Regions from separate parts of the Homo sapiens genome. Here regions 1, 2, 3, 4, 5 and 7 are each linked to region 6. The links are contacts of gene promoters, found by promoter capture Hi-C in blood cells and fetal thymus (Javierre and others, 2016). All regions are on one chromosome and are shown on one strand. Each heading gives the region's core, a stretch centred on a gene start or on the middle of the fragment in contact. The rest is flanking DNA. Distances are from core to core; before and after follow the strand shown.

What was found. The method cuts DNA at HindIII sites, captures the fragments that hold promoters and counts their contacts. A CHiCAGO score of 5 or more calls a contact.
Region 1: a contact is called between a fragment that was not itself captured here and the fragment with the promoter of REPS1 in region 6, in 3 of 17 cell types (fetal thymus, total CD8 T cells and non-activated CD4 T cells). The highest score is 7.8, in fetal thymus.
Region 2: a contact is called between a fragment that was not itself captured here and the fragment with the promoter of REPS1 in region 6, in 3 of 17 cell types (fetal thymus, total CD8 T cells and naive CD8 T cells). The highest score is 5.8, in fetal thymus.
Region 3: a contact is called between a fragment that was not itself captured here and the fragment with the promoter of REPS1 in region 6, in 1 of 17 cell types (megakaryocytes). The highest score is 5.9, in megakaryocytes.
Region 4: a contact is called between a fragment that was not itself captured here and the fragment with the promoter of REPS1 in region 6, in 3 of 17 cell types (fetal thymus, naive CD4 T cells and non-activated CD4 T cells). The highest score is 7.4, in fetal thymus.
Region 5: a fragment that was not itself captured here is called in contact with the fragment with the promoter of REPS1 in region 6 in 12 of 17 cell types (naive CD4 T cells, total CD8 T cells, total CD4 T cells and 9 more); the score reaches 16.9 in naive CD4 T cells.
Region 7: a fragment that was not itself captured here is called in contact with the fragment with the promoter of REPS1 in region 6 in 7 of 17 cell types (naive CD4 T cells, total CD4 T cells, non-activated CD4 T cells and 4 more); the score reaches 6.4 in naive CD4 T cells.

Annotation. Positions count from the first base shown.
Region 1 is chr6:139,378,835-139,382,730 of GRCh38, reverse strand. No RefSeq gene overlaps it. Among named protein-coding and RNA genes, the nearest start is that of CITED2, 6.1 kb to the right of the region's middle. The HindIII fragment of the contact is 6,226 bases long and covers 1-3,896 here.
Region 2 is chr6:139,319,840-139,323,484 of GRCh38, reverse strand. It overlaps a transcript of TXLNB not described here. Among named protein-coding and RNA genes, the nearest start is that of TXLNB, 30 kb to the right of the region's middle. The HindIII fragment of the contact is 5,074 bases long and covers 1-3,645 here.
Region 3 is chr6:138,582,615-138,586,273 of GRCh38, reverse strand. It overlaps a transcript of NHSL1 not described here. Among named protein-coding and RNA genes, the nearest start is that of NHSL1, 85 kb to the right of the region's middle. The HindIII fragment of the contact is 3,383 bases long and covers 1-3,025 here.
Region 4 is chr6:139,297,511-139,301,115 of GRCh38, reverse strand. All of the region lies in intron 4 of LOC102723690 (a long non-coding RNA gene), which reads right to left. It also overlaps a transcript of TXLNB not described here. Among named protein-coding and RNA genes, the nearest start is that of TXLNB, 7.3 kb to the right of the region's middle. The HindIII fragment of the contact is 6,162 bases long and covers 1-3,605 here.
Region 5 is chr6:139,357,628-139,361,669 of GRCh38, reverse strand. No RefSeq gene overlaps it. Among named protein-coding and RNA genes, the nearest start is that of CITED2, 15 kb to the left of the region's middle. The HindIII fragment of the contact is 9,947 bases long and covers 1-4,042 here.
Region 6 is chr6:138,986,971-138,990,700 of GRCh38, reverse strand. It overlaps REPS1 (RALBP1 associated Eps domain containing 1), which reads left to right and starts at 2,448. Exons shown (of 20, transcript NM_001286611.2): 1 at 2,448-3,171. The coding sequence starts at 3,019. RefSeq lists silencers at 2,217-2,456, 2,647-2,946. The HindIII fragment of the contact is 2,634 bases long and covers 1,422-3,730 here.
Region 7 is chr6:139,340,299-139,344,435 of GRCh38, reverse strand. No RefSeq gene overlaps it. Among named protein-coding and RNA genes, the nearest start is that of CITED2, 32 kb to the left of the region's middle. The HindIII fragment of the contact is 6,456 bases long and covers 1-4,137 here.

The DNA of each region.
Region 1 (3,896 bases), core at 700-3,199, 390 kb before region 6:
GGCTAAGTTTAAAATTTCTTTTTTTTTTTTTTTTTGAGATGGAATCTTGCTCTGTCACCAGGCTGGAGTGCAGTGACGTGATCTTGGCTCACTGCAACCTCCGCCTCCTGGATTCAAGTGATTCTCCTGCCTCAGCCTCCCAAGTAGCTGGGACCACAGGTGTGCGCCACCACGCCTGGCTAATTTTGTGTATTTTTAGTAGAGACCAGGTTTCACCATGTTAACCAGGATGGTCTCGATCTCCTGACCTTGTGATCCACCCGCCTCAGCCTCCCAAAGTTCTGAGATTACAGGTGTGAGCCACCGTGCCCAGCCTCAAATTTTTTTTTGTAGAAACAAAGTCTCTCCATGTTGCCCAGGATGGTCTCAAACTCCTGGGCTCAAGCCATCCTCTTGCCTCAGCCTCCCAAAGTGCTGGGATTAAAGACGTGAGCCACTGCACCCAGCCCCAAACTTCCATTTTGAACTGGAAAACTACTTTTAAATGATTTTAATTCCCACTGTTTTAAAAGTAGAAATTGATATAGATTCTATTACTGTCTTCTGCAATCCTATCCACCTATAATATAGAACATCAGCTGGGAAACGCTGATCTAAAAAACCACTCAACACATCTCTATTTCACTTCAGTGAAGTCTTCATAAAGACTTGGTCTGCTCCGATAATCCATACCAGTGTTTTTAAATCCTGATGGTTAGGAAGTCCTTTATGAGCAAGTCACTTAACCTCTCAGGACCTCAGATTTCTCATCTAGAAAAGGAAGGAGTTTGGATAAGATTATTTTTAAAAGTCCTACCCACACTAGAATTCTATGATTTTTATGTATTATCCAAAGCATTAGTTTTCATAACTGTTTAACATCAGAACAATATGTTTTTAAAACAAACAGAAACCCTTAATATATAAAGCACTTAAAAGTGAAGCTGAGAATACACAACATCTACAGAACACAAATTTGGAAACCACTGATCTAAAGCTCTCTTTTTAAAAACGCCTTCCTTTTTTCTTTGTCTCAGTGGAAAAGGAAAACATCTGGAAAGGATCCACCATATTAGTTTTCCTCTATGTAGACCAGAACATATGTATTAAGTCACCTGTCAGCTTTTTCTTCCCCAGATTAAATAGCCATTATAAGTCCCATTTCCCGTCCCTTTAAAAATATATTTCCTTTTTTTTTTTTCAATGAACTTTCTTTGGTTTTGGTAACTCTTTATTAAAAGGTAAAGTTGCAAACTAACCATGATCTCTCAGAAGAGCCCAGTGTAGCAAAAGGATTACTTCCAGCTCTGTCATGTGATTCTCACTCCTGATATACTCCGAGTTGTGTCCTTTTCAATAACAGCATTCCGTGGCTGCCTCTGATTCAACCAATAGCTTAGGAGGACCCGCAGTTTTGTTTTGGTTTGGTTTTTGGCTGAACTTGTTATATCTACTCAATAATTTCCCATCCAATACCCATGTAATTTGTTATTGTCCTCGTGAAGCCTCTGCAGTTTTTCTTATTGAACATAATCTTGTTTTTGATAGAGTGTTTTTCTAATTATTTAAGGTCACTGAATTTTTCTTCTGCTTTCCAACATACCTCATCCAACTTCAAAACCAATGTGAATGTTCTCTAGCTTATTGTTAAAGCTGCAGACTAAGAAAATGCCAATTATCTAAAAAAGAATCTATATGTGACGTGTGTTATATAGGCTGAATTGTACCCCCACCCAAATTCCTCTGCTGACAGCTAACTCCCGGTATCTAAGAATGTAACCATAACTAGAGATAAGGTCTTTAAAGAGGTGATTCAGTTAAAATGAGGACATTAGGGAGGGTCCTAATCCAATCTGACTGATGTCCTCATAAGAAGAGGAAATTTGGACACACGAAAGAGACACCAGGGTTTCCTGTGCACAGAGGAAAGACCATGTGAAGACACACCAGAAGCAGCCATCTGCAAGCCAAGGAGAGGGGTCCTGACACTTTGATCATGGACTTTCAGCCTCCACAACTATGAGGAAATACATTTCTGTTATTTAGGCCTCCCAGGCTGATATTTTGTTATGGCAGCCCTAGCAGCACTAGCAAACTTATACACATGCTCCTGGCTTATGATGGTTTCACAGATGATGTTTTCAACTTATAGAACGGGGTTTATCAGAGCATGACCCCATGGTAAGTCGAGAGGCATCTGTCGAAGGTTGACCTTATTCTGTGCACGACATTTTGCAGCCCCTTGGAGCTCACCTGGGAACCTCTGCCATCACAGAGAAGGTTACAGAAGAATACAAATACCCATAACTCAAGTCAGAATAGGTCAAAAAAGAAGATCTGAGTAAATTGCCCTGGAAGCACCAACGAGCCAGAATTCTTGCCATCTAGGGGATCAGGGGAGGCTAAAAAAGAGGAAATGTCATCTGAGCTGGGCCTTCAAAGACAGGCAAAATTCCAGTCATGGGCGGGAGGCGGAGAGGAAACGGGTGGCAGTCCAGGGAAACTGGACATTATGAGTGTGAACCAGGTTCACAGTACACCCATGAACCCTGTGAGAATGACCCCAGTTGTCATCAACCTATAAACAAGGTTGGCTGTTTGCAAACCTAGCTAAATATCAGAACCAACCGGGAGCTTTTAAAAAATATACAGCTCCTCAGGCCCCACTCCCAGCCTGATGAATCAAGAACTCCAGGAATGACATCCTAAAATATTTATTTTAATCAAATTCTCAAGCGGGATAGTACCAACTTCATCAATTTAAAGACCCTTTAATACAAACATTTCATTGACCTCTACGTGATAATGGCTATATTTCTCTTGAATGAAAAAATACCTAAAGACAGAAAAACTATTATGAGTTTGGTAATAATTTCAAGTGAATTTGTATTTTATGAGTTAGAACCAAGTTTACATGTTTAAAAGTGATATTCACATCTCAGTTTGACATATATACTACATGTAAGACATTATTCAGTTTGCAGATAACACCAGGTTGCATATAGGGCCTCTGTCACTATTAAATCATGTGTTAACAGACTCTCTGGCTACCTCTCTCCTCTTTTCCCTATTCCTCTCCTTCTGAGAAGGTGGCCATGTTTTTCATTGTTTTTATTTTTATTTTTAAAAGATTCTCTGAGACTCAAAGTCCTCCTTACTAAAGTGATGAAAGTAATCCCTACTCCTTACATTGAGGATTAAGTGAGCTTTGGGGTTTTGTTTCATTTTGTTGTTTTGTTTTTTGGGTTTTATTTTTTTTGAGACAAGGTCTTGCTCTGTCACCCAGGCTGGAGTGCAGTGGCACGACCTCGACCTCGACCTGCAGCCTTGACCTCCTGGGCTCAAGTAATGCTCCCACCTCAGCTTCGCGGCTTCCTGAGATGCTGGAACTACAGTCATGCACCACCATGCTCAGCTACTTTTCATATTTTTTGTAGAGTCTGGGGTTTTGCCATATTGCCTAGGCTGGTCTCAAACTTCTGGGCTTAAGCAATTCTCCCACCTCAGCCTCCCAAAGTGCTGGTGATTGTGGGCATGAGTCACTGCCCTCAGCTGAGATAATTTAAATAACGTACAAAATACAGTGCTAAATCTCACCTTCCTCCCTTCCCTAGCTGCACCACACAAGTATGAGGTCTTTCAATATATTTTTTGAAGCTGGGTCCTTCAGTCAGCCTTTTCTCAATTCAGGTTTTAGCTAAAGCCAGAGACTCACCTCTAAAAACTTGTTTCAGTCAAAAGTTCACACCAATGGGGACCTTTGTCCATTACTCAGCAGTCAGTGATGCCCAGGTGAGTCATCTTCCCAAACAGATAACAGTTTTGCCCAAGTGGCTGCCACAATGCAGACAAAGGTAAGCTGCTGTTCTCCTTTTCCACTTGACTTTTCTACCTCCAGCTTTTTTTTGGTAGAAGGG
Region 2 (3,645 bases), core at 793-3,292, 330 kb before region 6:
TGTGAAACCCCCGTCTCTACTAAAAATACAAAAAATTAGCTGGGCGTGGTGGCACGCACCTGTAGTCCCAGTTACTCGGGAGGCTGAGGCAGGAGAATTGCTTGAACTCGGGAGGCGGAGATTGCAGTGAGCCTTGATCATGCCATTGCACTCCAGCCTAGGCGACAGAGCGAGACTCCGTTTCAAAAAAAAAAAAAAAAAACTAAACAAATTCTTTTTCTTGGGGTCACTATAATACATCTCTAGAGGTTTCTTGCAAACAAAAGAGCCCAAACCACACACTGAGCCCCATCCCTTCTTCATCTCGTGCAATGTCAACACCAACAAAATGATTTCCTATGTATTTAAGGAAGGATAATCATAGTCACTGGTCCAAAATGAAACTTCTTACTGAAATGACAATTGAAATTATTCCTAGTCAGTTCACAGAAATGCTAGTTTCTTATTTTAAAATGAGGACAGATCCAAAAGAGATAAAGGGATTTAGGGAAATGGACATTTAGAAAATTGATAGCCCCATGGGCCTCTGTCCTGGGGAAGCCACTATTCAATTAGCATCTGTTTATGGGGGATTCAACAGCAGGGAAAACCCAGCGAAAATGCCTGCCCCCATGCAACATACAGGCAAGAGGAGGAGACAAAGAATAAACACAGCAAATAAGTAAAATGTACAGAAAATGTGCAGTGTGTTTTTTCTACAGAAAAAGAAGGAACAAGGGGGATATAAAGCTGGGCTGGGGAGGCATCGATATTTTAGGGGAGTGGCCGGGAAGGCAGTTGTTACTAAGATAATTTGGATGAGAGGTGGTTGAACTCTGCACCGTATTGAGGATAGAACTAATGGGACTTTTGTGTTGGATCAGATGTGGGATGGAAAAGGAAGAGAGGAGTCAGGCATGAGTCCAAATTTTTGATCTGAGTAACTAAAGGATGGAGTTGCCATTTTCTATAATGGGGAAGACTGGAGGAGGAATTTCTTTAGAAGGGAGGTGGGGCCTAATGGGAGGTGTTTAGTTCATGAAGGCTCTGCTTTTATGAATGGATTAATAATGGATTAATGTCACTATGGAAAGGGCTGGCAGGAGTGGGTTCACTCTCTTCTGCTCTTCTGCCAGTGTGAGGACACAACACTTGTCCCCCCAACCCTTGCCCTTCTACCTTCTGCCATGTGAGGATGCAACAAGAAAGCCCTCATCAGATGCCAGGGTGTTGATCTTGATCTTCTCAGCCTCCAGGACGGTGTGAAATAAATGCCTGTTCTTTATAAATTACCCACTCTGTGGTATTCTGTTATAGCAGTGCAACCCAGCAGTGATAATGCCGAAGCAGAGATGTCAATAGGCTGTGAAGTCAGGCATGGTGGTGCACCTGTAGTCGCAGCTCAGAAGGATGAAGTGGGACGATTGCTGGAGGCCAGGAGTGCAAGGCTTTAATGTGCTATGATGGTGCCTGTGAATAGCTACTGCACTCCAGCCTGGGCAACATAGTAAAACTCTGCCTATCTTAAAAAAAAAAAAATTAATGAATCTGTAGTTCAAGAGAGTAGTCTGAGAGGCTGGGCGCAGTGGCTCATGCCTGTAATCCCAGCACTTTGGGAGACCGAGGCAGGCGGATCACGAGGTCAGGAGATCGAGACCATCCTGGCTAACACAATGAAACCCTGTCTCTACTAAAAATACAAAAAAATTAGCCAGGCGTGGTGGTGGGAAACTGTAGTCCCAGCTACTTGAGAGGTTGAGGCAGGAGAATGGTGTGAACCCGGGAGGTGGAGCTTGCAGTGGGCCAAGATTGTGCCACTGCACTCCAGCCTGGGCAACAGACTCCATCTCAAAAAAAAAAAAAAAAAAAAAAGAGAGAGTAGTCTGGGCTAGAGACATAAATGTAAAAGTTTTCAGAAGTCTCTGTATATGAAGTCTCCATAGATTAAAAAAAAAAAAAAAAAGGAGAGCTCAGTCATAGCCCATGTGGGCTGCTATAACAAAGTACCATAGACTGGGTATTTTATAAACAACTGAAATGTACTTCTTATAGTTCTGGAGGCCGGGAGACCCAAGATCAAGACATCAGCAGATTCAGTATCTGGTCAGAGCCCATTTTCTGATTCACAGATGGTGACTTCTCACTTTATCTTCATATGGTAGAAGGCACAAGGCAACTCTCTGGAGCCTCTTTTGTAAGGGCACGAATCCCATTCATGAAGGCTCTACCTTCATGACCCATTCACCTCCAAAAGGCCCCATCTCCTAATGCCATCATCTTGGGGGTTAGAATTACAACACCTGAATTTTGTAGGGGACACCAACATTCAGACAATAGCAAGGTCCAGTGACGGAACCCCGGGGCACTTCTACACTGACAGGCTAGTATCAGGATTCAATCCATTGGATAAGGTAGAAAACCCAAATAATAGTGTCTGAAAGAACATGGATGTCTGGAGGTGAGTATTTCAGGCCTAGCAAGCAGGTGCATGACATTAACAGGGATCTAGGTTCCTTTTACTTCTCTGCTGTGCTGTCCCAAGCCCATGGCTTTCATCTTCACAGTTGCCTTAGAGTGGAATATGGCCACTGTAGCTCTAACAAATACATCTGCTTCAGGTAAGAAGAAGGAGAAAGTGGGAAAGGGCAGAAGAGCTTTCTTAGAAGTGTTACCCAATGACTTGTGCCTATGTAGCATGGGAGAGATATAGACTCTGAAGTCACCTTGTTGAGTGAGAATCATGTCTGTACCAGTGCAGAGCTAGAAAGTCTTGAGCAAGTTGATAACTTGTCTCTGCCACAGATTTGTCTTTTGAAAATGGGAACAATCACACTGCTCACCTCTAGGTTGGTAAAAAAAAAAAATGAGATTATATGCTTAGAAAATTTTCTGCCTACAGAAAATTCCCCAAAAGTGGAGTTTTACAAATTAAGTAAATGATAATCGAAATAAAAAGGAACCCATTTGATTTCCAGTGTCTCGTCTCCAACCCAGTCCCATGAATTTGGATTTTTGGTGATGGTAATATTTTAGTGAAGGAAACTTGAGTTCACTGGCAACAGTTGTGTTCCTCTAGGACTGAAAATATCAACTCATAACGAGCTAGCAAGGAAGGCAATTGTCTCACTGATTTTGTAAATATTCCTTGTGGTTTCCAGAAATTATTTGGAAACAGAAACCTAAAGGAAGAATAGATTAGTGCTCAAAATCGATAATATGAGTAAGAATATAATGTAATTGTCTACTCCCAAATTGATGAATTAGGACCTATGTGTCATACAAAATTTTAGAAAACATATAGGCTTAGTCACCACTTAGAAGTTACTTAAGTAACTTTTATTTAAGGGAAAGAGAAGTTAGAAACCAGGCACTAATATTTATTTTAAAGAGTTAATAATTTAATACCACATTGGATTTTAATAACTTTAACAAATTATAATTTAAAACAAGATATAAAATACATATTCAATAACCACTACAAATTAAGAGATATTTCAGTTATTTATATATATATGGCCATAAGCTAAATATTTATAAAGTAGTAGAAATGTATTTTTAATAACTTTTTTTTTACTTTTTATCCACTTCACTATGCTGTGTATTGCTAATCCTTTCTAAATGTCTCATTTCCTGTTGTAATTGTTAAATACTATAAATAGTCATTTA
Region 3 (3,659 bases), core at 85-2,584, 400 kb after region 6:
AAAATACAAAAATTAGCTGGATGTTGTGGTAGGTGCCTGTAATTCCAGCTATTTGGGAGGATGAGGCAGGAGAATCTCTTGAACCTGGATAGTGGAGGTTGCAGTGAGCCAAGATTGCACCACTGCACTCCAGCCTGGGCAAGAGCAAGACTCCATCTAAAAAAAAAAAAAAGGTTTTGACACTATTAACTTTTTCTTCTTATTTATTTGTTTTTGTTTTTAGAGTTGGGGTCTTGCTCTGTTGCCCAGGCTAGAGTGCAGTGGCACAATCACAGCTCCACTGCAACCTTGAACTCCTGGGCTCAAGTGATCCTCCTGTCTCTGGCTCCCTTGTAGCTGGAACTATAGGCATTCACCACCACACCCAGCTAATTTTTAAGTTTTTTTTTTTTTTGTAGAGACTGGGACTTGCCGTGTTTCCCTGGTCTTGAGCTTCTGGCCTCAAGCAGTCCTCCCACCTCAGCCTCCCAAAGCGCTGGGATTATAGGTGTGAGCTAACATTCCTTGCCTTTTCCCCCTATTTTGAAATGTAACTCACTTTTAACTAAGCATTTTCTTATCAACTGTAACCAGTGGTGTGTATTTTATGGAGCGATTCAGTGCCTGGTATTTTTCTTCTGTGTTCACTTTTTTTTTTCCTTAGAAAAATTACCAGTGAAACAAACTTTAGGATGGAACATAAGAGAGAGAGAAGTTTGACCAAATTTGGAGTTTTCAATTTTTTAAAATTTTTCAGTCGTTTAAAATAACTGACATTCCTTATGAGGTAAGGTAGCTATATTTGTGCTATTTTTGTAGTAATTTCCTTTAACTTGTCGGAATTTCACACTCTTCTTTGAACCATTCCTTGCCTCACATCCTTTAGTGAAGAAAAATATGCCTCACAAGTAGGTGAAATGACACAAGTTGGTCACTTTTAGAATCGTATTATTACAGGTGAGACTTGGGTGCTCACTTCTTTTCCTCATAATTCTGGCATGAGTGAAATATCTCCCTGATGGGAAATATTTTCCTGATGGGAATCTGACTCTCAATCCCAGCTCACCTCTCGCTCCCTGTACACACCAGGTGTAACTAATCATCTGCTTCCAGCCTAGCCAATCATCTGTGCTGGTCCACCAGCCACATCTATTTCAAGGACTGCTCCTGCTGTTGCTGAAAATAACCTATCAGTTACTGAGTGCTAATAATGTGCGTTTCTCACTTAGTTTTCATAACAACTCTAAGAAATAAAGGCCCGGGTGTCTGTAGCATGCCGGGGTTCAAGGAGAGAAATGAGAGCCAAGGGTGAGTACAGCTGTTAAGGCCCTGTGGTCCTTACCCACACAGGTGCATTTTGCGGCAGCTCTGTTGTAGTTCTTCCTGTGTTTCAGGGAAATGCCTGCGTGGCTGGGCTGGGAGGAGGACGATTAGGAAGGAGAATCTCTGGAACAAATGTCTCCGTCTGTGCTCGCCAGTCTCCATCAGTCCACTTCAGTCTGCCATCAGTGGAAAGGGCGTGGTGTTTACTTTGTAGAGGTACTTCGTCCTTCTTTGAAGTTCTTCGTGGTGGCATATCTTCATGGTAATAGAAGTTGTCTTGATTTAACACACCCAGTTTTGGTCCTGGGGAACAAGTGTTTCAACCTCAAATTTCCGAGTGTCTGAGTGTCTTAAGTGTTCTTTAGGCCTTTTGTTCTCTACATTTCTCCTTATTGAATAAGTTCATTACTTTAAGACTGTAACAAAAGTAATTGCACAGGGACCACTGAAGTAGTCATTATGAAATTGGATTCCCCTTCACTAAATAGCCCTTCTACTTATGGATTTTGATGACTGTCGGGAGAGTTGGCCGTGCACATGGCTGTAAAAAAGTGTAGAGCTGAAGAGAAAAACATACAAAGATAAAGTCATCTTAAATTTTTTAAGTTTTAAAAGAGTGAAATTTTAATACACAGTATGTGAGAGAAACACAAACAGCTATGCCCTTAATCAAATTTGCAATAGAGATCAATTTTTAGATATATCCAGCTGTGAAGTGTTCATTTAATTACACAAACAAGGTTGTAGGAAAAGGATCAGGTGAATTAGTTTATAAGAGATACCAAGTCTATGGTTCCTTTAGTTGCAGAGTCAGTGGAAGGTTTTTAATATTATTTTATTTATTTATTTACTTGAGATAAAATCTTGCTCTGTTGCCCAGGCTGGAGTGCAGTGGTGCATTCATAACTCACTGCAGCCTCAAACTCCTAGGCTCACATGATCTTCCTGCCTCAGCTTCCTGAGTAGCTGGGACTATAGGCGAGCACCACCGCATCCAGCTCATTTTATTTTTTGTAGAGACGAGGTGGGAGGTGGGGTGTGGGGAGTGTCTTACTTTGTTGTCCAGGCTGCTCTCCTACTCCTGGCCTCAAGTGATCCTCCCACCTTGGCCTCCCTCATATGGCAGATTGAGTTGTTGCAGTGGGGACTATAGAGTTGACAAAGCCTTAAAATATATGCTCTCTGGCTCTGTATCTAATCAAGCCAGATTAGATTATGTGGGGGAATATCAAAGGAGGTCCAGTAAAGAAACTTGAGTTCATCTGTCAGGAGAGAGTTGAACATGACGATGAACAGCATATGATGGACCAGTGCAGTTTAACAAACATCAGTTTAGTGCTTACTGTATGCCGGGTCCTGGGCACACAGTGACAGAAGCCTCAGTTCTTTCTCTTGGGTGGTTTACAGTCTGGAATGGCAAATGCATAATTTCAGATGTGACGGGTGAAGCGCAGCATCTCTCTGCGTGGGGTGTTACGGGAACACATAGCAGGGGTACCTCACATAGCCCAATCCCTGAGGTCAGGAATGGTGTTTTTGGAGCCTTTAACCCTTGGTAACTTGCCCAAGTAGGTGCCTGTGGTAGATGAGATTCAGAAATATTCACCCCCTGCCCCCACTTCCTTGGGCGAGTGGAGTTATTTCCCTTCCCCATGATGCTGGGCTTAGGCACATGACCTGCTTTGGCCAGTGGAAAGTGAGCAGCCCTCCTGCCTAGGAAGCTTCTGCAGCTGAGCTTGTGCTCTCTGGTGCCATTGCCATGGAAAAGACAGGCTTGGACTGGCCTGCTAGTCCTAGGAGGGGAAGGGACACCTGGAGGTCACCGCCAAGGTGACCAGCCATCCTTTGTACCCAGGACTGCCCCCATTTTAAAACTGCAGTTCCATGTCCCAGGAAATTCCTCATTTTCAGGCACACGGGGAGAGCCACCTTGGAGCAAAGCCACCTTCAGCCGAGTTCAGCCGAGATTCACTGCCCTGCAGATGACCCACTAGCTTGTGAGAAATTGTAACTGATGACTGCTTTAAGCCATTGGGTTTTGCAGGAGTTTGGGAGGCAGCAGTAGTTAAGTGATACAGGACCCAATAAACATTTGCTTATTTGAATGGAGACAGCTCCCGGCAGAAGTTTTGAAGGGTGAGTAAAAGTAAAGCCGGTGGAAAAGATGAGAAATGTTCCAGAGATGGAGGAGATAAAGAGTCAAGGGCCTGGAGGCATGGAGCGTGGTGTGCCTGGTGGTAGGGAGGACAGATTGAAGGTGCACAGCCAAAAGCAGGTCACCCAGTTCCCAGGGCATGGCAGTAGCCCAGGGGAGACACCCACAGGCAGTGGCCCTCAGCAGAGTTAAAGGGAAGGCT
Region 4 (3,605 bases), core at 130-2,629, 310 kb before region 6:
CACATCTATTTTGTTTGAACAGTGACCCCTGGAGTTAGGTAACAAGGCATCTCAGCCAGGATCCATCTACAGTTTGGGCTCCTAACTGGCACAATTCCAAATTTATACAGAATGGGGGCCCTGAAACAGTTTAAAGAAGAATAGAAGAGATGTGGTGCTTCCTTTGTAGTCCTTGAGCTTGAATTAAGGAACACACAAGGGAAGTTATTCCCTTTTTTTTTGAGATGGAGTCTCGCTGTGTCACCCATGCTGGAGCACAGTGGTGCAATCTCGGCTCACTGCAACCTCCGCCTCCCTGATTCAAGTGATTCTCCTGCTTCAGCCTCCTGAGTAGCTGGGATTACAGCCGCGTGCCACCACGCTGGCTAATTTTTGTATTTTTAGTAGAGACGCAGTTTCACCATGTTGGTCAGGCTGGTCTCGAACCCCTGGCCTTGTGATCCACCACGTCAGCCTCCCAAAGTGCTGGGATTACAGGCGTGAGCCACCGCACCCAGCTGAAGTTCTCTTCTAAGGACAAAGGAGTCATATAAGATACATTAGGAGCAGAAAGGCTCTGAAAGCCTTTCGAAAGGCAGACAGGTTCAGGTAATGGGCTCCCTTTAAGCCTATCAATGGACAATTAGCCTAGGCATCCCCTCACCATGAAAGGGAGGGAAAAAAGAGACATAATTGGGAAGATAAAGAGGCAAGGTAGCAGGAGTCTAAGCATTTGCTCACTCAGTCCCAATCCTGTTGACCATCTCTGCTGTTCCCAGGTTGCGTTGTTCTACATCCTATCAAAGCCACACCAAATTGTTACAGAGAAAAAGACCACACATAGAATTTAAAAATTAGTCCATGCTCTTTGATAAGAACTGCATTGCAAGAAGGAAGGAGAGGAGTGTCCACCAGCTCAGAACTAGGTGACCACCACACACCTGTTTTCTAACACATCAAAATGACAGGCTTTCCTTTCAACACAAGTTCAACCTTAGACCCTTCCTGAGAATTGCTTTGTGATCAGCAGGGGAGGAGGGGCTTCATGACACTCACGTAAGGGAGAGAAGAACTTCTGACCCTTAGGGAGGGGAATCAAAAGAACTTGTCATACTAGACAGAGAAGAGAAAAATGAACCTTATAGTTAGTTAGTTAGAAAACCTCAAAAAGGCTATTTGAAAGGGATGCTTTTATCAAACCTCTGAAAGGAGTCACAGTGCTTGTATGGTAAAACATCATGGATCTATCATCTTTGGAGACTTAACTATTGGCAAGTAGTACTGTCTTATTTAAAAGAGCCATTTTTTTTTTCATCAAATGTCATCTACCTAAGGACAGATCAGGGTGGCTCTAGACAGGACCTCTAAGTCCTGTCTAGTATCAAGGTCCCAAGTTGAGTCTAGGAACACTATGTTCCACAAACCCAGGGGGTCCCACATCTATTTTGTTTGAACAGTGACCCCTGGAGTTAGGTAACAAGGCATCTCAGCCAGGCATCTCCCCAAGTGGGGAGATGATCTGTGAGGTCCCTTCCCTCACCAAGATTCTGCAGACCCCACGATAGCTGGCAAACCCTAGGACAAGGAGGAATGAGAAGAGGGGAGGGAAGGAAGAAACATCCCTGTCCAGGAGGTCCCAGTCCAAAACCATGGGTGGCCTGAGGACTTCAAAGTTGGGACTATTAACAGTTGACATTTCAGTTAATCTGCATTATTGCCTTCTTCTTGCCATTAGTAAGGTTTGTTTGGGTATCTTGTGGCCAGAGTTCTTTCAGATGGGATATGTTTCCCAAGTTTCTTACAGGGAACATGAGCCAAAGGAAGCAGAATGCCACAAAAAGGGTGACATGAGCCCTTCGAGTTCAGCAACTTTTGTTCCCAGGGTTGTTGAATATTCACACGCCAGCTGGGCTTTCTTACCCATGTGCAGCAACAAGGCAATCCCTCCCCTCCCCAGGAGCAGCCAGGGGCCAGCCAATGGGAACAAGCCAATGGCAACACAGATTGTCTTAGTCTGTTTGTGTTTCAATAAAGGGACACCTGAGGCTGGGTTGTTTATTTAAAGAAGATATTTATTTGGTTCACAGTATTGCAGGCTGCATAAGACGCATGGTGCCAGCATCTCCTTCTGGGGAGAGTTTCAGGAAGTTTCCACTCATGGTGGAAGGTGAAGGGGAGCAGGCATCACATGGCAAGAGGGAGGAAGAAGGAGAGAACATGGAGGAAGGTACCAGGTGCTTTTTAGCAATCAGTTCTTGTGGAAACTAATTGAGCAAGAACTTGATTCCAAGAGACTCGCACCTAGCCATTCATGAGAGATCTGCCTCCATGACCCAAAAGCCTCCACCTCCAACACTGGGGATCAAATTTCTACATGAGACTCTGAGGGGACAAATATCCAAACTATATCACATACTTTAATCAGGACCAATCACTTGACCTTCACATCCTCTTGCTGGCATGCAGGGGTTGCAACAGTGGAGTCTGCTTTAGGGGAATGTCATTGCTGCAGCCCATAGTAGCCACTAAAATCCAACTCTACCCTCAGGGGACACTCTGCATGAACAAGTCAACATGCAGTTCTATGCTTCTGAATCTCTACTACATCCAGCAATGGGATAAGGAAGAGCTCTTCAAAGATGGGGAGGTCCAATATTCCTGCAAAATAACACACCTTATTCTGATCTTCCTTGAAGCAAATATTGACATGAGCCAAATGTCCCCTGTAGAATGCATGCAGCAATGTCATATTAATTTGAATTCAACAGAGAATTGGTATAAAGGAGCCTATCCTAGAATCTGTCTGCATTATTTATAAGAAGACTTTCATGATGAAATTGTTAATATAAAAATGTAAGAGTAATAAGGCTACTTAAGAGGTGGGGCTCTTTGCAAGTACAAGTGTAGCACCCAATATTTATACAAATTTCAAACTATTTATTTTATTTATGCAAGTCCATCTGCTCTTTACTAGAAATAATATTTGCTTGCCTAATTTTGCTGACAAGTGATAAAACAATTCTTTTCACAGGGTGGGAATCATATTTCACTTTTAGTACAAATTAAAGAGTTGTCACCATGGGAATTGAATATTGTAACTTGCTGTTTGGTTTTGTATTTGGATTAATACAAAATAATCTCTGTTTGATTACAAGCCCACATTTCCCTCCATTTTAGAAAGACAAAGGTGATGTCTGCTGAGTAGAAGCAGTATAGAATGATGCGCCCCCACCACCCCAAGCCAGATCTAGCCTAGGTCAAGAATATAAATACCACAACCAAGAGATGATACAATAGATTCCTTCAACTTGGTCCTAGGCAGCAACAATTTGAAAATGTTATTGGTGTAGAAAATATTAATTCCCATTCACAGGCTTTATTTAAACACATAATTATTGGAATTAATTAAAAAGATTATGTGTTTGTATTAAACCACATTTACTATGTTAATTTCATAACAATCATATACAATAAGTAGTCCCCATTCTATGGAGTAGGAAATTGAAACTAAAGAAATTAAAATATAGCCCAAGTAAAAGACAGATCTGGAATTCACGTGGAAGCTACTTGATTTTAAGGCTCATAATCTTAATTATTTAATGATTTCTGTTTCCTTTCAGCCCATG
Region 5 (4,042 bases), core at 180-2,679, 370 kb before region 6:
ATTGGACTATGGGCAAGTAGCTGTCAGGAAAGGCTAGCACATTGGCTGGCCGGGAAAACTCCAACAAAGAGACAGAGAAACTATAGTCAAAGAAAGCATGGAGGTGTTTTTAGTGAAATTATCTAATATTGACCCTGTAATGTCCTCTGGAAGCCATGCACTCATACTGAAGAGCAGAGAAACTGGTTTGCAGAAGTCAGCGGGAGAGTGGAACACATTGCCTGAACAAAGCAATAGTAAGAGACCATCTGGTGCTAAATCAAGATAGATGGAGAGGGAAGACACATCTGTCCCGGGCAACTTCCTGGTTTCCTGATTAGCACCCACCATACCCACAGTTCCTGTAAGATGTGTCTATGCCTTTTGTAATTTGTCTAACTTGAGGGATTTTGAGAATATCTATTTTATTACTCTGTGCTTTTGCACATGCTGCTCCCTCTGCCCAAAAGGCACTTCCTCATCTTCATTCCTTTGCTGAAATGTCCTTCAATACCCACCTTAAGTATCTTCTTCTCTGAGAAACTTCCTCATATACCTCCCTACTTTGCAGCACCCCTATACCTTATAAATACCTCTGTTTGTATGGATTACGTACACAGTATTACAATTATTTGATAATAAGTTTCTCTCTTCTACTTTGCAATCATATCTATTAAGAAATTTTTAGCTGCAAATAATAGAAATCCTGATTCTGGCTTAAACCATGAGAAATACATTTATTATCTGTCAAAAGTCAAGAAGGCAAGGGCAGGCTTCAGGGTTGATTAATTCACTGATCAATAATGTCCACAAAGACTCAGGCTTCTCTCATCTCTCTCCTGGGCTGTCGTCAGTGTTGGCCGCACCGTGGACCGGTGACAGGTGGCATGAGCAGAGCTCACGTGACAAGTAGGGAAAAGAAAACTTTCTCCAGAACCATCCTTTTCTTCATGTATCATGTCATGGACCAATTTCTGAACCAACCAACCACTGGGATTGGTTTTACCATGGGGTGGAATTATCACAATTGACTTAATCACCTCGGTGTGAAATGGATATTAAACTGACAACTCCATCACCAGAAGAGTTAACAGCGAAGCAGACCTTTTCTAAAATTTCTGTTTCAAGGCATAGATTTTAAGCTGTAATTGACAGGGACTCTTTTTAAAGTTTTTTTTTTTTCCAAATCTTCTTCATATAATAAAGACATATATAGCTAACAAAATTATATCATAAATCACTCAGAGAGGGTTTACTTGATTAAGGTTGAAATGTCTTCTATAAAGCAACATTTGTTAATATAAATAAATATTCTATTAAAAAGAAGTATATGGTCATTATGTCTTCATTTCTAGCCCTTCAAAATATGTTTGATATTCCCTTGTTAATATGACTAATAAGTAATTTTTCTGCACCAAGAAAATCATGTACATTTTGGCAGGTGATTAATCTCTGTGCAAAATGAACAGAATCTAATATTTATGAACAAATTACTGATAGCTATATAATCTATTTCCATAATAAATGCACTGGTCCGTATGACAAAGCCAAAAAGAATATAAAAACAGCCTGACAAGATTCAAACACGGAAGATAAGAAAACTCTAATATATGGCCGTGAACATCTTCTGTTCTGTCTACTCATTGCTTGTCCTACCCTTCCACAAAATGCCACTTTTTCACTTTAGTTACATACGTCCATGTGAAAATTCCCATAATCCTATGTGCCCTGGGCACAGTGAATGGCTAGGGGTGCCCAGATGGGCCCAGTTGAAACATTCATCACACTTTCATCTTACCCTCTGGCTGCAGCTAATTGGTCTGTGGATAACACTGACCCAACAGAAACCTTCCCACAGGAGTTAGCTTTCTTCCTTTCTTCTTCATTTTAGTAATTTTGGGGGCACAAATAGTTTTTTGTTGCACAGATGAATTATGTAGCAGTGAATTGAGATTTTAGTGCTCCCATCACCCATGTAGTGTACGTTGTACCTAATGTGTAGTTTTTTATCCCTAACCCCCCTTCCACCTTTCCTGTTCTGAGTACCTATAGTCCAATATATCACTCTGTATGCCTTTGCGTACTCACAGCTCAGCTTCCACTTATCAATGAGAACACATGGTTTTTGGTTTTCCACTCCCAAGTTACTTCACTTAGAATAATGGCCTCCAGCTTCATCCAAGTTGCTGCAAAGACATTATTTCATTCCTTTTAATGGCTGAGTAGTATTCCATGGTGTATATATACCACATTTGCTTTATCCACTCATTAGTCAAAGGGCACTTAGGCTAGTTCCACATCTTTGCAATTGTGAATTGGGCTGCTATAAACATGCACGTGCAAAGATTATTTTCATGTAATGACTTTTTTTCCTCTGGGTAGATACTCAGTAGTAGGGTTGCTGGATCAAATGGTAGATCTACTTTTAGTTCTTTAAGGAATCTCCATACTGTTTTCCATAGAGGTTGTACTAATTTACATTCCCATCAGCACTGCATAAAAGTTCCTTTTTCCCCATATCCATAGCAATATCTGTTGCTTTTGACTTTTTAATAATGGCCATTCTTGAAGGAGTAAGGTGGTATTGCACTGTGGTTTTAATTTGCATTCCTCCCCCTCCCCCAGGAGCTTTTAACTTGACAACAGAGAGATCAAGTTTTAAGTCCTCTTTAGTGATGAAACTATGAGCCTGTAAACTGCTGTTAGCCATACTTCCAGCCGTGTGAAAGAAGTGAGTGTGGGAGAATACACACTCTGTTCATCTGTATTCACACTGCTAAGAAGATATACCCAAGACTGGGTAATTTATACAGGAAAGAGATTTAATTGACTCATAGTTCAGCATGGCTGTGGAGGCCTCAGGAAACTTACAATCATGGCAGAAGAGGAAGCAAACACGTCCTTCTTCACATGGTGGCAGAGAGAACCATCAGATCTCGTGAGAACTCACTCAGCTATCACAAGAACAGCATGGAGGTAATTGCCCCCATGATTCAATGACCTCCCACCAGGTCCCTCCCACAACACATGGGGATTATGGGAACTACAATTCTAAATGAGATTTGGGTGGGGACACAGCCAAACCGTATCAACAGAAAATATGAAGAAAGAAGCAGAAACAAAAAGGTAATCTGTTACTATCTGAGTCCCTGAGGTCTAGGTGCAACTTAACCCTTCCTGAAGTTTGGTTACGAGAGACAATAAAATTTTCCCTTCCAGAACTAATTTGAATTGTGATCAAACACATGAAACAAAATTATCTTGACTAATCATACTAATACTAACACAACTTTCATCTCCACTGTATTTTGTTTGTTTGCTTGCTTGCTTTTAAATATTTTCCTGAAGTATATGTTTGGGAGGGACTTCTATTTTATGTATACTTTCAAAGTCACTTAAAAATGATCTTTTCAGGAAACAATATGAGAGATATAACATGTCTGTATTAAAATTCACTTTTTTTCTCCTTGGATAAGGCTTCTAGCATTGTCTTGCACCAATATTACAGTAAGTAATGGACATTGTGAAGTGCTGCTCAAATCCCCCTTCAGGACTGAAGAACTTCTTCCCTCCATTACTGGGAATACTGTCAGCAAATGGCCCTCAACTGACACCTTCTTCTGGAATTTCCTCACCACCTTGCTCAAGGTCACACCCCTTCTGGAGGCAGCCTGCATACAGTGTCTGGAATAAAGGCCTGGCTCTCTCGTCAAGTTGGGACAATTCTGGGAGACCACCCTAGGAGCTTCCCATGGATGAACTGAGGACTTTCTTGAGGCTGCATTGAAGTTCATCTTCTGCCCAATCTGTCCTTCCGCTTCCTTCCACAGGCGTTGCTTCCAAGACCACTCCCAATCCACTCCCAGCATTCTAATCTTCATCTCAGGGGCAGCCCCTCCTAAAGAACTCAACAGGTAGCACAACACTTTAAAAATCGTCAAACTGGGCCGGGCACGGTGGCTCATGCCTGTAATCCCAGCACTTTAGGAGGCCGAGGCAGGTAGATCACAAGGTCAAGAGATCAAGACCATCCTGGCCAACATGGTGAAACCCCGTCTCTACC
Region 6 (3,730 bases), core at 1,199-3,698:
CTCCCGAGTAGTTGGGACCACAGGTGCACACCATCATGCCTGGCTATTTTTGTATTTTTGGTGGAGATGGTGTTTCACCGTGTTACCCAGCCTGGTCTTGAACTCCTTAGCTCAAGCAATCCACCCACCTCAGCCTCCCAAAGTGCTGGGATTACAGGCATAAGCCACCATGCCTGGTGAAGAAATATTTTCTTAATAACAAACTTAACAAAGAAATTAGACAGGCAAGATAGGGTAGTGATTTTTAGAGTTGAGACAGCCTGGAGTTTGAATCCCAGATCCGGGTATTTAATAGCAACATGACTTACACAATACTTAACCCATTTTGCCTCAGTTTCCTAATCTGTCAAAAAAAAAAAAAAACCTAGTAGTACCACTTAATAGGGTTGTTGTGAATAATGTGGTTATTAGTGTAAAGCTTTAGAACAATGCCTGAAACTTAGTAATTATTCAATAATTAGCCGTTAAAAATGTAACAGCTATATATGTAATGTCAGATAGTGAAAAGTGTTATAAAGAAAAAGAATTCAGGTTGGGTGCAGTGGCTCATGCCTGTAATCCCAGCGCTTTGGGAGGCTGAGGTGGGTGAGCCCAAGAGTTTGAGACCAGCCTGGGTAACATGGCAAAACTCTGTCTCTACAAAAGCCACATACACAAAATTTAGGTGGGCATGGTGGCCTGGGCCTGTGGTCCCAGCTACCTGGGAGGCTGAGGTGGGAGAATCACCTGAGCCTGGGAGGTCGAAGCTACAGTGAGCCAAGATTATGCCACTGCACTCCAGCCTGGGTGACAGTGGGAGACTCTGTCTCAAAAGAGAAAAAAAAGGAATTCAGATAAGGGGATAGTGCATGGTGGGATTATTTTACAGCAGCTGTTGCAGGAAGGCTGCTCTGAGGAGGTGACATATGAGCAGGGACCTGAAACCATATGAGAGAATACGCCATGCCATGGTTTGTGGAAGGACTATTTTAGATGGCAGGAACAAAGGCCCTGGGGCCGACAAGAGCTGCAAGGCCTAGGAGAGGTGGCAGAGAAAAAGATGCAAAGACAATTGTGAGCCAATCCCTACCCCATTGTGCTCTTTCTGTTTACACCTTTGGAAGGCAGCTGTCTGGGGGGGGTCTGATCACTTGCTGCAGGTGCCCTGAAAGGACACATGAGGGGCTGCTGTAGCAAACTGAAAGTCTTAGAGATGGGAAATAAGCTTAATGGATAGTATATACTTACCTTTATCAAATACTACTAGTCAAGTCAGAAGACATTGACAGGTCTAAAATCCCTTATCTTTCTTAAAAAATAGAAAGATAATAGAATGCCTGTGACTGTGTACATATTAACATTCTACAAAGACCTGGAGTGAAATGAGTAAATATTGACACTAAGTGGGATCCATAAAGGCTAGAAATAGCTTCATGCAAGCTTAGTTTAGATTTTGCCTCCAAATGAGGCAGGGCAGGTTTTACTTCCAAAGGGTTACAAAAAAAAGTCTTTGGGTTTTCAGTGCGCTTTGAATTTTGCAATTACAGATAAATGACTGGGAACCTGTAATAATTTCCTCATATGTGTCATTTATAGGATCCGCACTCTGGGAAACAACTTGTAGAAGACAAAATAAAAACCAGAACTCTGGGTAATTCTGCCTTAGCTCCCGTCTTTGAAGTATTTTATATTTGCTAAGTATAAATTCTTAAGATATTCTACTTGAAATAGCTGAAGAATCCCCTCTCTGGGACAGGTGCAGATTAAAAGAGCGCCACTCCATGATTTTCATAAAGGAGAAAATACGGAAGGCAGCCCCTGTGGGCAGCCCCGGGCCTACATGAGTTGATAGAGTTGAAGGTATAAATGTAGAGTATTAAGTTCCCAGTGACCGGAATGACCTGGTGAACAAAGAGGACAACTTTGCCAGTTTTCCCCTCTATTCAGCACATTTTGTTTCTCAGGTAAACATGGCTTGAAGCACGAGTGAGATGAAGCCTCAATGTTGGTGTCTACGTGGAGGCTTCCCGGATAGCCAGGATGTTCATAGCCCGGATGTTCATAGCCCTTCAGAACAGATGGAAATACTGCATTTATCTTCATCTGTACCGAAAAGGTACAGATAGAATGATAATAACCTGAACAAGGCTCCCCTTTCAATCCAATTATTCAGACGCTTAGGACCAGAAACTGCGAAACATAAAAACTGCAACCCGGATCTTAGTTATCTCGGTCTTAATGAGCTGCCGGCTGTTTCCCACTGCACCCCCCTTTCCGGGGGTCTTGCTGCTGAGATCTCCGCGCAGAGGGCGGCTCGGTCATCCCGCCGCCGGGCGCCGGCCACCAGGGGGCGCTGCGGCCTCCTCCCTCTCCCGGGAGCGGCCAAGCCAGCCCGGTGGGTGTTTCTCTCTCCCTCTCGCGCTCTCTCCTCCCGGCCTCACATCCGGGTCTGGAGCGCGGCCGCCGCTGTCACTGTTGGTGCGGGCGCGTCGGGGCCGGGCCGGGGCACTGTAAATGGCGGCGGAGGGAGGCGGAGCGGCGGCCACGCTCAGCCCAGATCCCCCGAAACTTTAGGTTCGAAGCCCCACAACTTTCCGGGAAGCGCTGCCGCTCCGGAGGCGTGGACGGAAGGGGAAGCCGAGGCGGGAAGTCTGGGGGAATCGGCAGGGAGCCGGGGAGACTCGAACCCGCGGCGGGGGCGGAGTCCGCCAGTGCCTCGCGCCTCCGCGGCCCCCGCCTCTTTCTCTGCACCCTCCCCGCGGCCGGAGCCGGAGCCGGAGCCGGAGCCGTAGTCGCAGCCGCAGCCGCAGCCGCGCGCCGGGCCTCGCAGGCAGCGGCGCGGCGAGCGCAGCCGGGCCCCCTCCTCGCGACCTCCGGGCCCTGTTGCTCGGGCGCACCTGGCGCGTGTGAGGCCGGGGCCGGCGTTTTCGGGAAGCTAGCAGGAGGCCGGGCCACGCGCAGCCCCTGCCGGCCCAGGTTCCTGGGGCCGGGCCCCGAGTAGTGCATGCGGGGCGGGGCGGCCGTGAGCCGGAGGCGAAGATGGAAGGCTTAACGCTGAGCGATGCGGAGCAGAAATACTATTCAGATCTCTTCTCCTACTGCGACATTGAGAGCACCAAGAAGGTGGTGGTCAACGGGCGGGTGCTGGAGCTGTTCCGGGCCGCGCAGCTGCCGAACGACGTGGTCCTACAGGTAACGTCGCGTCCCGGGGCCGGCGGGCGGCTTAGGCCTGCAGTCACTGGCCTCCAGGAGTGGGAGTGGGCGCCGATTCCTTGGGGCCCGGCGGGGGGCTGGTTCCTCGGGGGGTCCCCGCAGCGGGCAGGGGCCGCAGGTGCCCGGGAGGCCTGGACTCGCGCCGCGGCCAAGGGGGAGGGGGTTGCCCTTAGAGGACGGAACTCCTGTGGTGGGGGTCTGAAGAGCCTCAGCCGGTATCCCCCACGACCCTGAGAATCTGTGCTCTGTACTGCAAGAGCTATCTCACTTGAAGGATCTTAGGTTGTTAATGTGTGTGAATCCTAGAACCTGGCATATAGAGAGCTTTTCGGATCCTGCAGAGTAGTAAAGTTATCAGTATGGGCAAAATGGTTTTTTTAATTCTTGGATTAACCGAGAAGACGTGATAAAGTGAGTTCTATAGATTTAGGAATCGAAGAAGCAGTTTTTTTAAAGGAAGCAAAATTCTTAGGGAAATTTTTTAAAATGTGAACTACTTAGTAGTTTTACAAGTAGGCATACAAGAAGTTGTAATTAT
Region 7 (4,137 bases), core at 660-3,159, 350 kb before region 6:
TGTTATTCTACCTGAGAATGCTGTAATGGACTGTGTCAGTTGGCCTCCAGCCAGGAGGTGGTGCTTGCAAAAGAGTGTCAGCTGTGGTAGTAGTGGTGGGATTTGTGCTTGCCTTATGTAACTCAGGGGAGGTATTCTAGAATCTCAGGCAATGGGTGGGTCCATAGAGCTCCCAAAAGTTTCTGTCCCTTGTGTTAAGCTACCAGGGCAAGTGGTGGAGCAAAGCCAGGTGGGGGCTGGGTCAGGCAGGTCCATGCTCTGGCTCTCCACATGCAGGGCAAATAACCCCAGTAGGAGCTGGGGGCCAGTTCTCCGGCTGCTCCGGTAATATTCCAGGAAGCAGTGCAGCTGCCTGTGTTGCACAGAAGAGTTTCACAGGGAGTGGGGAATAGCAGGCAACAGTAAGCCTACCCAGCTCCCACACGCTTAGAAAGGCAGGTGGCAGGTCGCAGGCCAGGCGCGGTGCTCATGCCTGTAATCTCAACACTTTGGGAGGCCGAGGCAGGCAGATCACGAGGTCAGGAGATTGAGACCATCCTGGCCAACATGGTGAAACCCCATCTCTACAAAAAATACAAAACTTAGCCGGGCATGATGGCACATGCCTGTAATCCCAGGTACCTGGGAGGCTAAAGCAGGAGAATTGCTTGATCCCAGGAGGCGGAGGTTATAGTAAGCCAAGATCACTCCACTGCACTCCATCCTGGGAGAAAGAGTGAGACCCCGTCTCAAAAAAAAAAAAAAGAAAAAAGAAAAGAAAAAAGAAAGGCAGGTCTCTCATACTTGCAGTGTTACACTAGCATCAGCTAGCTAAGTTCCAGGCAATCTGCACTTAAAACTCAAAACTGCCCCAGCCCATAAGCCTTCCCTGTGGAGACAGCAACAGCTGCTTTCAGGACATGCTCCTCCCAGTCCCAGCTCCTGTACTTGTGGCTATAGCACACTTCCCACTTGCCCCCAGTTCTGGCCAAGGGAGTCTGTCCCCACTTGAAATTATATCATGAATTTCAGCTAGGAGCTTCTCTCAACGTGCAACCACCACTTGAGTTAGTTGGCAGACTTCTGGGAAGTCCCTTGTGAGGTAGGACCAAAAATCACTTCCCTTAGTCTGTGCTGAAGACTGGGAATGCACACAAGGCTCTTCCCACTGCTGCCCCTGCTTTTATATGCCACATCAATCCCTAAATCAATGCCAGCACTCAGTAGGGTTAAGGCCTTCCCCCATGGACTGGATTAACTGGTTCCCCAGTGGGAGTGTATTTCCTGGAGGCAGTTTATCCCCCTTCAGATTCTGCAGACTTAGTTTTTCACCTGACTCATGGTGTAGGCTGCAGCCCACCACTTCTTTCAAAGGGCCTGTGGTTTCTTTCAGTTTTCCTGTTTAGTTCCTGTGTTGCTTCTTGGAGAAAAATTCACAGTGTGAAACACTACACACTATTGTGTCTTTCCAAGGAGGAGAAGCATGCTGACAATGTCTCCAATCTACCATCCAAGAAGAGACCAAGAGTCTTTTTAGGAATATGAAACTATCCAGCACCAAACAAGGAAAAAATCTATAATGCCCAGCATTCAATCAAGGATTACCATACATCAGGATCTCAAATCTAATAAAACACAATTTAAAGAAAGAAAATAAAAGATCACCAGTCATGAAGGAAGCAAAACACCACCCTTAATGAAGAGAAAAGTCAGTCAATTGAAAACCACCTAGATGTTAGAATTAGCAGACAAGGACATTAAAACACTTATTGTAACTGTTTTTCAAATGATCAAAAGTTAAGTAAAGACATGAAAGATATAGAGGAGACCTAAATCAAATTCTAGTGATGAAAATTTTAGAAATGAGATGAAAAATTCATTGGATGAAATTAGAAGCAAATTAGATGTTTCACAATAATGTGATTATACTTAACACCATTGTACTGCACACATAAAAATGGATAAAATGGCAAATTTTATGTAGATTCTTTTACCACTATATATACAATATATATATTTTTGAGACAAGATCTCACTCTGTCACCCAGGCTGGAGTATAGTGGCACAATCATGGCTCACTGCAACCTCAACCTCCCAAGCTCAAACAATCATCCCACCTCAACCTCCCATGTAGCTGGTACCACAGTCACATGTCACCATGCCCAGCTAATTAAAAAAAATTACAGGCACAGTGGCTCATGCCTGTAATCCCAGCACTTTGGGAGGCTGAGGTGTGTGGATCAACTGAGGGCAGGAGTTCAAGACCAACTTGGCCAACATTGTGAAACCCTGTCTCTACCAAAAATACAAAATTAGCCAGGCATGGTGGCAAGCGCCTGTAATACCAGCTATGCAGGAGGCTGAGGCAGAAGAATCACTTGAACCAGGGAGGCAGAGGTGGCAGTGAGCCGAGATTGTGCCATTGCACTCCAGCCTGGGCAACAGAACAAGACTCTGTCTCAAAAAAAAAAAAAAAAATTGTAGAGATGGGTCTCACTTTGTTGCCCAGGCTGGTCTCAAACTCCTGGGCAATCCTCCTGCCTCAACCTGCCAAAGTGGTGGGATTACAGGTGTGAGCCACCACGCCCAGCCTAAAAATATATTTAAGGGGTCAGGTGTGGTGGCTTAAGCCTGTAATCCCAGCACTTTGGGAGGCCAAGGCAGGTGGATCATGAGGTCAGGAGATCTAGACCATCCTGGCTAACATGGTGAAACCTTGTCTCCACTAAAAATACAAAAAATTAGCCGAGTGTGGTGGTGGGCACCTGTAGTCCCAGCTACTCGGGAGGCTGAGGCAGAAGAATGGCATGAACCCAGGAGGCAGAGCTTGTAGTGAGCTGAGATCACACCACTGCACTCCAGCCTGGGCGACACAGCGAGACTCCGTCTCAAAGAAAAAAAATATATATATATATAAGGAGTTTAAGAAATAGATTAGAAATTGCAGAAGAAAAGATTAGTGTATATGTGTATATGAAGACATAGCAATAGAAATTATCTAAAATTAAACAGAGAAAGAATAAACATTTAAAAAACCATGTATCACTGTGCTGTGGAAAACTTCAAGATGCCTAATATACATGTAATAGAAGTCACTGAAAAAGAAGAGAGAGGGTAACAGAAAAAAATGGGAAGAAATAATGGCCAATAATTTTCCAAATTTAATGAAAAGCATAAATCTACATATTCAAGAAGCCCAATGAACCCAAAGCACAAGAAATGTGAAGAAAACGACACTAAGGCACATCATAATTAAATTTTCCTAAACAAGTGATAGAACATTGTAAAGCAGAGAAAAACATCACAATATATTTAGGGAAACAAAGATAAGAACTATAGCAGATCTCGTATAAGAAAAAATGCAAGTGAGAAGACAGTGACACACAACATCTTTAATGTACTGACAAAAAAATTATTAAACTGTCAAACTAGAATTTTATACCAAGCAAAATATGTTTCAAGAACTAAGGTGAAATAAAGACTCTTTCACATATACAAAAGCTGAAAATATTTATCAGCAACAGACTTGCTCTATAAGAAATGTCAGGCTGGGCGTAGTGGCTCATGCCCGTAATCCCAGTGCTTTGGGAGGCCAAGGTGGGTGGATCACAAGGTCAGGCAATCAAGACTATCCTGGCCAACATAGTGAAACCCCATCTCTACTAAAAACACAAAAATTAGCTGGGCTTGGTGGTGCGCACCTGTAATCCCAGCTACTCAGGAGGCTTAGGCAGGAGAATCGCTTGAACACGGGAGTCGGAGATTGCAGTTAGCTGAGATCACGCCACTGCACTCCAGCCTGGCAACAGAGTGAGACTCCATCTCACCACAAAAAAAAAAAAAAAAAAAAAAAAAAAAAAAAAAAAGAAATATCAAAGGAAGTTCTTCAACCAAAGACATGAGGAAAAGGGAAGAAAAAGAAGAGATGGGTCAAACAGAAAACAAATGGCAAGATGACAGACTTGAATCTATCAATTATCACATTAAATATAACTTTGTCAAAACATCTCAATTAAAAGTCAGAGATTGTCAAACAGAAAAGAAACACAGGGCCGGGTGCGGCAGCTCACGCCTGTAATCCCAGCACTTTGGGAGGTCCAGGCTGGCGGATCACCTGAGGTCAGGAGTTCGAGGCCGGCCTGACCAAACCCCGTCTCT